4 separate regions of the Homo sapiens genome follow, and all the other regions are linked to region 1. Evidence: promoter capture Hi-C in 16 types of primary human blood cells and fetal thymus (Javierre and others, 2016). All regions are on one chromosome and are shown on one strand. Each heading gives the region's core, a stretch centred on a gene start or on the middle of the fragment in contact. The rest is flanking DNA. Distances are from core to core; before and after follow the strand shown. Region 1 holds the start of BRD3OS (BRD3 opposite strand). Region 2 holds the start of CACFD1 (calcium channel flower domain containing 1). Region 3 holds the start of MED22 (mediator complex subunit 22). Region 4 holds the start of SURF4 (surfeit 4).

Evidence for each region. The method cuts DNA at HindIII sites, captures the fragments that hold promoters and counts their contacts. A CHiCAGO score of 5 or more calls a contact.
Region 2: a contact is called between the fragment with the promoter of CACFD1 here and the fragment with the promoter of BRD3OS in region 1, in 1 of 17 cell types (naive CD8 T cells). The highest score is 5.5, in naive CD8 T cells.
Region 3: the fragment with the promoter of MED22 here is called in contact with the fragment with the promoter of BRD3OS in region 1 in 1 of 17 cell types (fetal thymus); the score reaches 9.6 in fetal thymus.
Region 4: the fragment with the promoter of SURF4 here is called in contact with the fragment with the promoter of BRD3OS in region 1 in 5 of 17 cell types (non-activated CD4 T cells, M1 macrophages, megakaryocytes and 2 more); the score reaches 13.2 in non-activated CD4 T cells.

What each region holds. Positions count from the first base shown.
Region 1 is chr9:134,024,110-134,026,809 of GRCh38, reverse strand. BRD3OS (BRD3 opposite strand) reads right to left here and starts at 1,329. Exons shown (of 3, transcript NM_001355256.2): 1 at 1,274-1,329; 2 at 720-965; 3 at 1-602. The coding sequence starts at 62. RefSeq lists silencers at 1,036-1,455, 1,766-1,895. The HindIII fragment of the contact is 9,456 bases long and covers 1-2,700 here.
Region 2 is chr9:133,458,575-133,461,323 of GRCh38, reverse strand. CACFD1 (calcium channel flower domain containing 1) reads right to left here and starts at 1,346. Exons shown (of 5, transcript NM_017586.5): 1 at 1,137-1,346. The coding sequence starts at 1,257. ADAMTS13 (ADAM metallopeptidase with thrombospondin type 1 motif 13) reads right to left here. Exons shown (of 29, transcript NM_139027.6): 29 at 1,938-2,350. The coding sequence ends at 2,144. RefSeq lists silencers at 831-1,130, 1,421-1,520, 1,531-1,750. The HindIII fragment of the contact is 16,509 bases long and covers 1-2,749 here.
Region 3 is chr9:133,346,860-133,349,559 of GRCh38, reverse strand. It overlaps MED22 (mediator complex subunit 22), which reads left to right and starts at 1,429. Exons shown (of 5, transcript NM_133640.5): 1 at 1,429-1,638. RPL7A (ribosomal protein L7a) reads right to left here and starts at 1,342. Exons shown (of 8, transcript NM_000972.3): 1 at 1,314-1,342; 2 at 518-638; 3 at 1-9. The coding sequence starts at 1,316. It overlaps SNORD24 (small nucleolar RNA, C/D box 24), which reads right to left and starts at 164; the gene lies at 90-164. RefSeq lists enhancers at 921-1,390, 1,252-1,546. The HindIII fragment of the contact is 16,795 bases long and covers 1-2,700 here.
Region 4 is chr9:133,374,810-133,377,509 of GRCh38, reverse strand. It overlaps SURF4 (surfeit 4), which reads left to right and starts at 1,450. Exons shown (of 6, transcript NM_033161.4): 1 at 1,450-1,588. The coding sequence starts at 1,541. It overlaps STKLD1 (serine/threonine kinase like domain containing 1), which reads right to left and starts at 1,144. Exons shown (of 18, transcript NM_153710.5): 1 at 950-1,144. The coding sequence starts at 1,036. RefSeq lists silencers at 906-1,405, 1,496-1,735, 1,746-2,025. The HindIII fragment of the contact is 2,219 bases long and covers 190-2,408 here.

The DNA of each region.
Region 1 (2,700 bases), core at 80-2,579:
TACCGGAGGCGGGCGTAGCCTTCAGACAAGGCCTTCTCTGCCAGGGGGACACGGCCACTCATCCCCTCCCCCGTCCCGCTGGACTCCTGGGAACCCTGCTGTTCTGAGACGGCCCACGCGCACTAAATTAACGGACAGCTTTCCCAGCTTTGGGGCTTAAGGATCCCTCGTTTAACTGAATGGTAGAAATTAGGAATTCCGCCCATTTGCAGGCAACGTCCTCAGGAGGGTTGTGTGGTGAGGAAATGAGGCGGCCTCACCATTCTGAAGACACCTGAGACCCATTCAGGGGACCGCACACAGGTCAGAGCGGCGCCCGGCCACAGCTCTTCCGGGTGCAGCTGTGTGGAATTGACAGGGACGAGGCGTCACACCCTGGGGGGTGATTCTGCCACCATGGCCTGGACCACTGAGCTTGAAGAGATGGATCCAGTGCCCTGAGGAAGGGACATGGTGGCCCCAGACGCAAGCTGGAAGGAGCTCCGGTGGCACGCCCCGCACGCATCTGTCCGGGCCAGCTTTCAGGGCAACGGCTGTTCTGACCCACCCTGGGGATCCAGCCCCAGCGTTTGTTCAGGTCTCGTCTCTCCCCAAAGGTGCTGCTGCAAAGGAACGAACGTGCTGTCAGGAGAGGGGAAGTCAAGCGCCCCGGCAGCGGCGGCAGTCTGCAGCGCAGCATCAAGTCTCTGGGGGTCAGCGGCCTAGATCGAGCTACTTACGTCCCGTGGGGCAGCCTGGGAGCTGGGTGGAGAGTGAGACGGGCGCCCAGTGCCAGCTTTTTCAGTCACTGGGAGGTGCTGGGGAGGCTGCTTGTTGGGGCTTCAGGGTCTCCATCTGTGAAACAGGAGCCAGCGGCGCTTGAAAGGGCGCGGGTTCCCGGAGACGCCGCCAGGCGTCAGCCCCGGGACCGGAAGGGGCCCCCAGGGCCGCCTTGCTGCTCCGAGCATCCAGCTCCCGTGAGGCCCCTGGACCCAAACAAAAACGATGTCAGGAGAAAACAAACAGGGAAGCATCGCAACCCACTCCCGAACGCCTTCCCAGCTGCGCAGCGTCAGGGACCTCCCCTCCTGGGATGCCTGCGCTAGGTCAGCCTCAGCTTCCCGGGCCCCCATCGCGCGTCCCCGCCACCTGCGCGCACCCTGGGGTCCCCGTCGCGTGGCCCGCGGCCCCCATCCCCGCGCCCCAGACCCCGCGCGCTCTGGGTCGCCCCATCCTCCAGCCCCCTATCGTCTGCCCGCATCCCCGGGTCCCCCACGTCGCCCGCCCCAGTCACCGCTCGTCGCGGGCCTCGGAGATGCGGGCAGCGGCGCGACGCACTGCGGGGCTCCCAGGGCGGGGCCGGCGGCCGCTGGGCCGTGTCTCCATGGCAGCGCCGCAGGCCTGGCGAGCCGAGCGCAGAGGCTGGGCAGGCGTGTGCGACGAGCCCAAGCCATCGATCGCTCCGCGAGGAGGGGCTGGGCCCGCCCCGAATAGGAACTGGAAGAGGAGGAGGAGGGGCTGGAGGAGGAGGGGCTGGAGGAGGAGGGGCTGGAGGAGGAGGAGGGAGGAGGAGGAGGAGCTGGGAGAGGAGGGGCTGGGAGAGGAGAAAGGGCTGGATGAGGAGGAGGGGCTGGAGGAGGAGGAGGGGCTGGGAGAGGAGGAGCTGAACGAGAAGGAGGAGCAGAAGGAGGAGTGGAGGAGAAGGAGGAGCAGGAGGAGGAGCTGGGGGAGGAGGAGGAGCTGAGAGAGGAGGAGGAGATGGAGGAGGAGGGGCTGGATGGTGAGGGGCTGGGAAAGGAGGAGGGGCTGGGAGCGGAGGTGGGAGGAGGGGCTGGCAGAGGAGAAGGGGCTGAGGAGGTACTGGAAAAGAAAGAGGAGCAGGAGCTGGAGGAAGACGTGGAGGAGGAGCTGGAGGAGGATGAAGAGAAGGAGTGGGACGCCCACAACCCTGTTAGTAAGACACTGCCGGACTGTATGGTCTTATCATCTTGGTTTTCGTATTTCTGCTTGTGTGGTTACTTTTGCCACTGCTGTTACTGCTTTTATTAGTATTCTTACTCTCAGTAATTGATACAATTATTTTTAATTAATTAAATGTCCGGGCTTACTATCTCAAAAATAGGTCTTGAATTTCTCCATCTCATCCAACCAAGCCAGGCCTCTATACTGCTCATTTGGACTCCTCAACAGCCCCATGAAAGCAAGGTCTATTTCCTTTTCTCACTCCACCTCCAATCATACTCCAATAGCACTCTTTTAGTATCTACCCTTTTCCCCTAATTTTATGGTTTTCTCCAATGCCAATTAAGAAAACTAGCATAATGGAACCTGGTGTGGTGGCTCACCTCTGAGTCCCACCTACTTGGGAGGCTGAGGCAGGAGGATCCCTTGAGCCAGGAGTTCGAGGCTGCAGTGAGCCATAATCATGCCACTGCACTTCAGCTGGGACGAAACAGCAAAACCCCATCTCTAAAAAAAAAGAAAATAAGCATAACAGACATCCAAGGAAGATGCTTAGTGTGAGCACTAAGCCCACAGCTGTGGAACGCACATTCTTTTTTTTTTTTTTTTTGAAAGGGAATCTCACTCTGTCACCCAGGGTGGAGTGTGGTGGCACGATCTCAGCTCACTGCAACCTCCGCCCCCCAGGTTCAAGCGATTCTCCTGCCTCAGCCTCCTGAGTAGCTGGGACTACAGGCGCCGGCAACCACGCCCAGCTAA
Region 2 (2,749 bases), core at 97-2,596, 570 kb after region 1:
GGGCATGCCTAGCGAGGGCAGCACACTCCTAGCCCAGCACCCTCCTGCCTCAACCTCCCTCCACCCTCTACCCACCTGGAAAGGCTGTGGAACCCAAGGTGACCCTGAAAAGGTGGTCCTTCTGGCAGGATTGCTGATGGGGCCTGCCCTGCCCAGGCCCAGAGCTAGCCCTCTCTGCCAGGCAGGCACTGTTTAAAACCTGCAGACATCCTCGACAGACATTCTCTAAGACCTTGCCCACTCCAGTAATCCACAAGATTGAGGGCAGACAGGAAAGGAAAGGGTATCACTCAGACAGACTTGTCTTTCCCTGGAAGGCCAGCTGTACGGCTTCCATTCACTCCTGGAGCTGACCTGCCTCCCTCTTTGTCCTTTTCTGGCTGTGCTTAAGAGCCTAGCTTCCCTGGCAGCCTAAGGTCAGGGTCTGTGACTGGGATGCGTGCGGAGAAGGGGAGGAAGGCCGGTGACAGGCGGCTAAGGCAGCAGCAACGGGGGAGATATGAGAGCGGACAGAGGACCCAGGGAGAGGCCGGGCCCTCAGCTCACTGCCCCGCGGCCCCAGGGGCCACCTGTGCCCTGACACCACCTGACCCTCAGCAAACTTCCGCCCAGTGGCTTCCTGCCAGAAATCTAGCCAGCCGTGCACCCGCCTCCCTTACAAACAATCCTTGCCCAAAGGTTAGCAATGTGGCTGCCGTCACCTACGCCCAAGTCAACAGTTGACGCTTTAGTACGGGCCAGGTGGGCATGCGCCCCGTGAGCATCACCGAGAAAGTCTCACAAAAGCCCCTGGGGAGCGGGGGGAGGGCTCAGTCACGTGCCCCAGGCCGGTGCCCCACCCCCGCCCCCGCCGCCCCCCCGCCCTGGGGTTTCTGGTCCCTCCGGGAATGTTCCCAGAAGCGCCAGCCCAGCCCAGCCCGGGGTACCAAGGCGCCCAGGCCCGAGCGGGTAACCATGGCAACCCCAGGACGCCGGCTCCCGGCGGCCCCGCCATTCCTCCGCCCCGGGAGGCGCCCGGCAGACCCCCGACCCCCAGCGGGTCCTTTCCCCTGGGGCCGCCGGGGCGGGGCGGGGCAGGGCAGGGCGAGGAGCGCATGCGCGGCGGGGCCGGCCCCTCTCCCCGACTGGATACTCACAGACTGCCCCCAGCACCCCAGACAGGCGACACAGCCAGCGGTACCACCACGTCATGCCCTCTTCCTGCGCGGGCGGCGCAGAGCTGGCGGACGCCCCGGGCGCCCCACCTGAGCTGCTCATGGTGCCACCGTCAGGCGCAGCTCACAGCCCTCACAAAGGGCTCGGTAGCCGGCCGCGTCCGAGCCGGCGCGCTGCCTTGTGGGAGAGGGAGCATATTAGCATAGGGGGCGGGGCTTTCAGGCTGCGGCGAGGCGCGCCCGAAGGGAGGCGGGTGCTCATTAACATAGTGAGCGGGACCCTCATGCCGCGACTAGGGGCGTTTGAGGGGAGGTAGGTGCTCATTATTGTAGGGGGCGGGACCCGCAGGCTGCGGCGAGGAGCTGGGGGTGGGGAGCTCGTTAGCATACGGGGCGGGGCTCGCAGGCATCGGAGAGGTGTGCCCGAGGGGGGCGGGCGTCATTAGCGTAGGGGGCGGGGGCTCGCAGTTTGCGGCGACTTGCTCCCAAAGGAGGCGGGCGCTTATTAGCATAGGGGGCGGGGCCTGGAGGCGCGCAGACACCTTAGCGGTCAGAGCCTCACACCAGGACACACGGGTGGGGCTTCGCAGGGAGCTGGCTAATGCGCCATCCTCGGAGTGGAATCCTGATTGGATTTTCTTCCTGGATAGGAAGAAGATAACTAGGGACGTCCAGCGGCTTGCTCAGATCAAGATAGAGCCAACCGCGGCCAGCGAATCCCTGCCTTGCCATGGGATGGGTTTTCAAGCCAGGTCTGGACAGCTTATAAGAAAAAAACGCCGGTCAGCCTGCATGTTTTATTTATTGGTACCCGAGGAAATGGGGGCTGCTTTTCCAGAGTCCCCACCTCCAACCCCCTAGCCTTTTGGACATTGGAGAAGACTCTAAAGTAGATACCTAAGATTGGAAAAAGTTCGAATTGGAAAGCACTGAGACCAGGGGTCAACCCTCCAGGGCTGGCCAGACACGGAACAAATGTTCAATGACCCTCAGGTTCCTTCCTTTCCCTTCCAGGACTGAGGGTCCTGCATCTCCGGTACCCATGATTGGAGGGTCCAGTACTGGCCCCGCAGGCTGGCCTGAGCCTTCAGGAAGCCCTCGCTGAACTCCATCTCAGCCTGGCTGCTCTCTGACTCCCAGTAGAGCACCTGCTGCCCATGGAACGCTGTGGTCCTCAAGCTGTGGGTGTCCCGGATCTGAGAGAAAAGGGGCAGCCCAGAAGGACCGGCCACAAGTAATAATTAGCACTCACGGAAGCCTTCGTGTGCAAGGGCTCACAGATTCCGGATCACATTTAATGCTTACAAAGCCCTACTAGGAATACGCCATTACTCTACCCAGAAAACCGAGGTCCAGGGACGTTACATCACTTCCCCAAGGACACACAGTCAGGGTGCCAGAGCGGGGCCAGGCTGCCTCCTCTGGGGAAGCTGATACCCTGCAGAACACAGTTCTCCCAGGACACTTGAAACCTCGGGGAGGGTGCAGGGTGCTATTCTGTCCAAGTTATATCAGACTGTAAAATTATGCTTCAGTCTTGGGTTAGCTGTCAGTCTACATCAGAAAGGTCTTTACCATTCTTTACCATTTCGCTT
Region 3 (2,700 bases), core at 180-2,679, 680 kb after region 1:
TGTCCTGTCCTGAGAAGTAAAGGGTGACACCGAGTGAGGCTCAAATTCCATGTCAAGTTCATGTCTGGGGCCACTAGGAAGGGTGTTGGTGCATCAGCGATCTTGGTGGTTTAAAATGTCATCACCATCTCTCAGATAGCAAATATTCTTTTACATCATCTGCACACAAACACCTGAGAACAAAGAGCACGATGCTTTTCCTCATCTAACAAGAAGCCAAGGTGCCACGAAGTACAGCAGAATTGCAGTCCTAGTACCTCGCTGCGACACTGCTACTGTACTTGTTTCCAGATGGCTAAGCTGAATTCAAGGCCACTACCATATTGAGCTGAATGCTCGCTCAGCAACTCCCAATGAAAGCAAGAAGCATGTATCATTGCCCCCGTCTCTAAGAGACACAAATTAAGGACTGCGACCACTTTACACCCACTAAAACCTACAAGATACAACACAACCCAATTACCACCTTCCCTTGAGAAAAACATAGACCGTTTTCATTCTGCCGTTTGTTACTTACCAATGCCAAAATTCTTAGGCCTTTTCTCAAACAGGGGATTCACCACTTTCTTAGCCTCCTGCTTCTTCACGACAGCTGGGGCCGGAGCCACCTTCTTTCCCTTGGCCTTCTTTCCTTTCGGCTGGGCAGAAAGAAAACGTCAGTTAAACCGCCGCCTCCACTCGCTTCGTCGGGGGTAGGGCTCAGGCTGGCTCCTCCAAAACAAGGGACGCTGACAGCACCTGCCTGAACTAAGCTGGCGAGCAGCTTTCTGCAACCCCCCAGCACCACCCCTCGACAGGAGCATCTCACATTCAGCCGCACAAGCATGCAGCCCCGGGAACCCCGAGTGGCCAGAGCAAGGCTAAGCCCGAGACCACGCTCTCTTCGCGTCGCCCACCCAGGAGACACCCCGGACTCATGACTCCTCTGAGTCGCGGCCCCACAGGCTCTAGAAGCAACAGGGGCGGGCTCAGAACTCGTCGCTCACAAGGCCTCTGGAGCGGCCCCCAGCAAGCCCGAGAGACGCTAGGGCTCCGAGCCCCGCACTGCGGTGCTCCAGGCCTGCGACACCCAGCCCTGCGACACCGGGAACAACGCATTCCGCTCTCGGCCGCCCGGGGCTCTAGTCCATCTCAATGTCTCCGTGCCACACCAAGTGGGGCTCTAATCCACCTCGGTGTCTCCGTGCCACACCGAGTGGGGCTCTCCTAGCGCCAGGAGGAGCAGGAGGCCCTCCGAGGCCGCGCCTGGAGGAGGATGGCAGCGGATACAGCCGGAACCTGGCTATAGTGCCACGGAACTACAGCTCACTCACCATCTTGGGCGGCGGGAGGAGAGAGAAAGGAAAGGGAATTGTGGGTAATATGTATGCGGCCTCGGAGATCGCGAGAGTTGATACCGGCACGGGATTTCGGATTTAAAGCAACAGCATTCCTATAAAGCTAAAAATCGAGGCGGGGCCGAGAGGCTGCGGCGGCTGACTAGGTTTTCGGACCGCGGCGCGGCGGGGAAGAGAGACTGCGGCGGGAGGGCCAGGCCGTGGGAGAGACGCGGGAAAGTGCGGGTCGCAGAGGCACTTGACCACCCCGCCCTAGGCCGACCCGGCGGACGCGGCGTCTGGTGTGCGGGCGCTGGGGCGGGTATGAGGGTGTGGTGGGGGGTGGGGATGGAGGGGGGGTGGGTGTGTGGGCGGGAGTGGGGGTGGGTGGGTGCGTAGGCGCTGGGGTCGGAGATCCCCTTTCCTGCGTGTGACTTATTTCCCACACCCCGCCAAAAATGGGCACAAACAATGCGAGTGCGTCCAGGAGTCCGCTCGGTCGTGCGCCAGACTCCGAACCTAGGGGGCCCCGGGCCCTCCCTGAGCACCGCGCGCAAAGGCCCGGCCCCAGGGCCAGGCAACTCCAGCGCCGAGGCCGTCCAGTGCGGCTGGAGGGCAGAGGCCGAGAGGCGCGGCGCGGAACTTGAGCCCCTTGTCCCGGCGCACCGGGGAACCATGAGGGATGTTAAGCGAGGGAGTGGAATTACCCCCCTTTTTTTTTTCTTTTGGAGACGTAGTCTCCCCCTGTCGCCCAGGCTGGAGTGCAGTGGCGCGATCTCGGCTCACTGCGACCTGTGCTTCCCGGGTTCAAGCGATTCTCCTGCCTCAGCCTCCCGAGTAGCTGGGATTACAGGCGCCTGCCATCACGCCCGGCTAATTTTTGTATTTTTAGTAGAGTTGGGGTTTCACCATGTTGGTCAGGCTAGTCTCAAACTCCTGACCTCAGGTGATCCCTGCCTCGGCCTCCCAAAGTGCTGGGATTACAGGCGTGAGCCACCGCGCCCGGTTGGAATGACCACTTTTTAGGACCTCTTCCCTGCCGCGCAGAGACTGGAGGGAGCGGGGCCCGCAGTGCAGGGATGAGGTCTGGAGCGGGGCAGCCTGAGTGGGAGTGGAAGGAAAGCGTGGATGTAGGCGGTGCAGAGGGGTCGAATTGGAAGGACTCTTCGGATGGGAGGGCGTGGCGAAGGTGGCGGCGGGCTAAGAAGTTAAGCCAAGGGCTGGGGACGGGGAGCTGGTGTTGAGTTTGCAGGGCTCCCTGGGACACGCTGTGGGCCTGGACGTGAAGTCTGGACTGGAGCCCTGGACAGGGCTTGGAGGGCTGGCCAGGAGTTCCAGGATGAGCTTGCTCTGGCAAAGGCGGGGCCAGTCCTGGCACCCCCTG
Region 4 (2,700 bases), core at 201-2,700, 650 kb after region 1:
GTATTTTTAGTAGAGACAGTTTCTCCATGTTGGTCAGGCTGGTCTTGAACTCCCGATCTCAGGTGATCCGCCCGCCTTGGCCTCCCAAAGTGTTGGGGATTACAGGCGTGAGCCACCGAGCCCGGCCAGGGACTGCTGTTCTAAGCCACAGCGGGCTGAGGGCAGAGCTGGTGTGAGAGCGTTCAAGCTTAGGCAGCAAATTAAACAGTAAAATGGAGCCGTATCTCGAATCAAGTCTATTTTTTTTTCCAAAAGCAGGTATATTCCTGAAACGTCTATTTTTTTTTAATCTGAAAAACAACTTTACTTTAAAAATTATCTGGCCACCAGAAGCTCATCTGCTTCACCTCTGGCAACGCCCTATAGTCCTCTCACACAAAGACAATTCTTCCAAAGTGACAAAAATCTAACCCGCAAACTGTTTCCAAGCGAATGCATTTTTCACAAATGCTGAATCTAACATTTAATAAAGTGTATATATCATGTATAGAAGCATTTAATTAAACATTTACTTTTATTTTGCAGCTTTCCTTTTGTGTTTTGTGAATTTTTTAGGTCTCAAACATTTTCACAGACCCACGCTGCAGGGGTGTTTTTAGGGGACTGGGGGCTCCCAATTATGTACTCGGGATGTTCCCGGGGGTCCTGCCTCGGTGGACCCAAGCGCACAGACCCCAGGCACGAAGGATAGAGGAGCTGCCCCACGCCCTCAAATACTCAGCCAGGGCTGGAGAATCCTTAGTCAATTCACAAAGGGGGAAACTGAGTGGCAAAGGGCACCCAGGAGGTCACCGTTGGAGGCCCCCCGGGTTCAACCTAGGAGCTGCAGGCCGACACTGGCCAGGGCGCGGGCCCCTCGCCGCCCTCGGTCGGAACCGCCGGCCGTAGCTCCAGGGTTGCGACCGTTACCCCACGGAGCTCCCGCCTCCCCGCAGGGAACACTCGGCACCTGGTACTTCTCCATGGGCTCTCCGGGGGACCCTGGGCCTCGCTCCCCCTGCGTGGGGCGCCTGCGATTGGACCCTGGCCCAAGCATGATCAGTAGCGACCGCGTACGGGCGAGCGTCCACCCCTGGCCCCACCCCGCGTGGGTCAGTGGGACCCGCGGGATCCTCCCCGCCCGAACGGCGCCCTCGAGGCACTCAGGCGTCCCTCCCGCGCGCTGGCCCCAGACCCCCAGGTCCCCGCCCCCTTAAAAGGGACGCGTTCCGCCGGGCCGGGAGGGACCGCAGGGCCTGCGCGCGGCGGGCGGGGCCTCCAGCGTGAGAGGCGTGGCGTCGAGCGCGGCGGGCGTGGCTTCGAGCGGATGGGTCGGGAGGCTGGGGATGGCGCGTGGCCCCTTTAAGACGCACCGGGGCGGGCCCGGGCGGCGCGCGGCCCCTTTAAGGCTTGGCCTACGTGGCAGCCGCTGGAGCCGCAGCCGACGCGGAGCGAGGCCGGCCGCCGGGCACTTCCTGTGGAGGCCGCAGCGGGTGCGGGCGCCGACGGGCGAGAGCCAGCGAGCGAGCGAGCGAGCCGAGCCGAGCCTCCCGCCGTCGCCATGGGCCAGAACGACCTGATGGGCACGGCCGAGGACTTCGCCGACCAGGTGCGGCCTGCGGGCTCCTCCCCCGGCCCCGGTCCCGACCCAGGCCGCCCGGGCCGCTCCGGAGTCGGCCTCCCAGCGCAGGGCGCCAGGCCCGGGCCGCCCCCTGACTCCTTGTTCCCACAGGGGGACCCCCCCGCCCGGGCCCTCTGTCCCGGCTGGACAGCCCCAAACCCGGCCTCCGGGCCCAGTCTCCCCTGCCCGCTGGGCCGCTCCCGGAGCCCGGGCCTCGGCGCCCTGCCTGGCTAGCCGCCCCCACCCTCCAGCCAGCCCGGGGCGCGGGCTGTGGGGGTTTCTTCCCGGGCCGGCGGCGCGAGTCCTGGCGTTGGGTCGGGTCTGAGGCTCGCGGGGAGCGCCTCGGCGTTTGGAGCTGCTGGGGGGTCCCCGCACGTTTTTCCTCTCACTGGGGCTCCCGGAGGCGGGCTGGGAGCTCGGGGACGAACGGGGGCCGGGGGTCCTCCCAGAGGAAAGGGGGCGCGCTGGCGTGCGCCCCAGCTACAGGAAGCCACAGCACCTTTTCCTTTTCTCTTTCCCAGATGTGCTGGACTCTTGGGGTCCCTTTGACCCTGTCTGCGTCTCCCTCCCCGTTTGGACTCTGCCCTGGGCTGGATTGAGTGGGGACCTGTACACAGCCTGGGAGGAGGGGAAGCCTATCTCCCTGATAGTCTCCTTCCAGAAGTGTCCAGGTGGCATTCTGAGCAACAGGGAAGCCTTTGAAACAGGCGGTTGGGTAACTGTTGAGAGCATTCGGGAACTGGGTGGACAGGATCCGATCCTACAAAGTGAAGGGACACAACTCCCTTCCCTCTTTCTTGATTAAGCTTGACAGAACAAAAAAACAAAAACAAAAGGTGGTGGTGGTTACGCAGATTTATGCCTTTTACTTCTAAAAGAATCCCGTTATGTCGACAAATTAACAGCCTTATCCCCGCAGGGAGAGCCTTGTGTGGCCCACTTGCCGTTTTTTCCTCGGTTTACTTAATGTGTTCGTGTGGCTTTGCTAGAGTTTTAAGTAGTGATGGTTAAATTTTTAAATTTTTCTGGAGGTGGTAGTGAGTCATCAAACTCTGAGGCCTAGACTTATCGGAAGGCTTGTATATGTGTGGTTTAAAAAA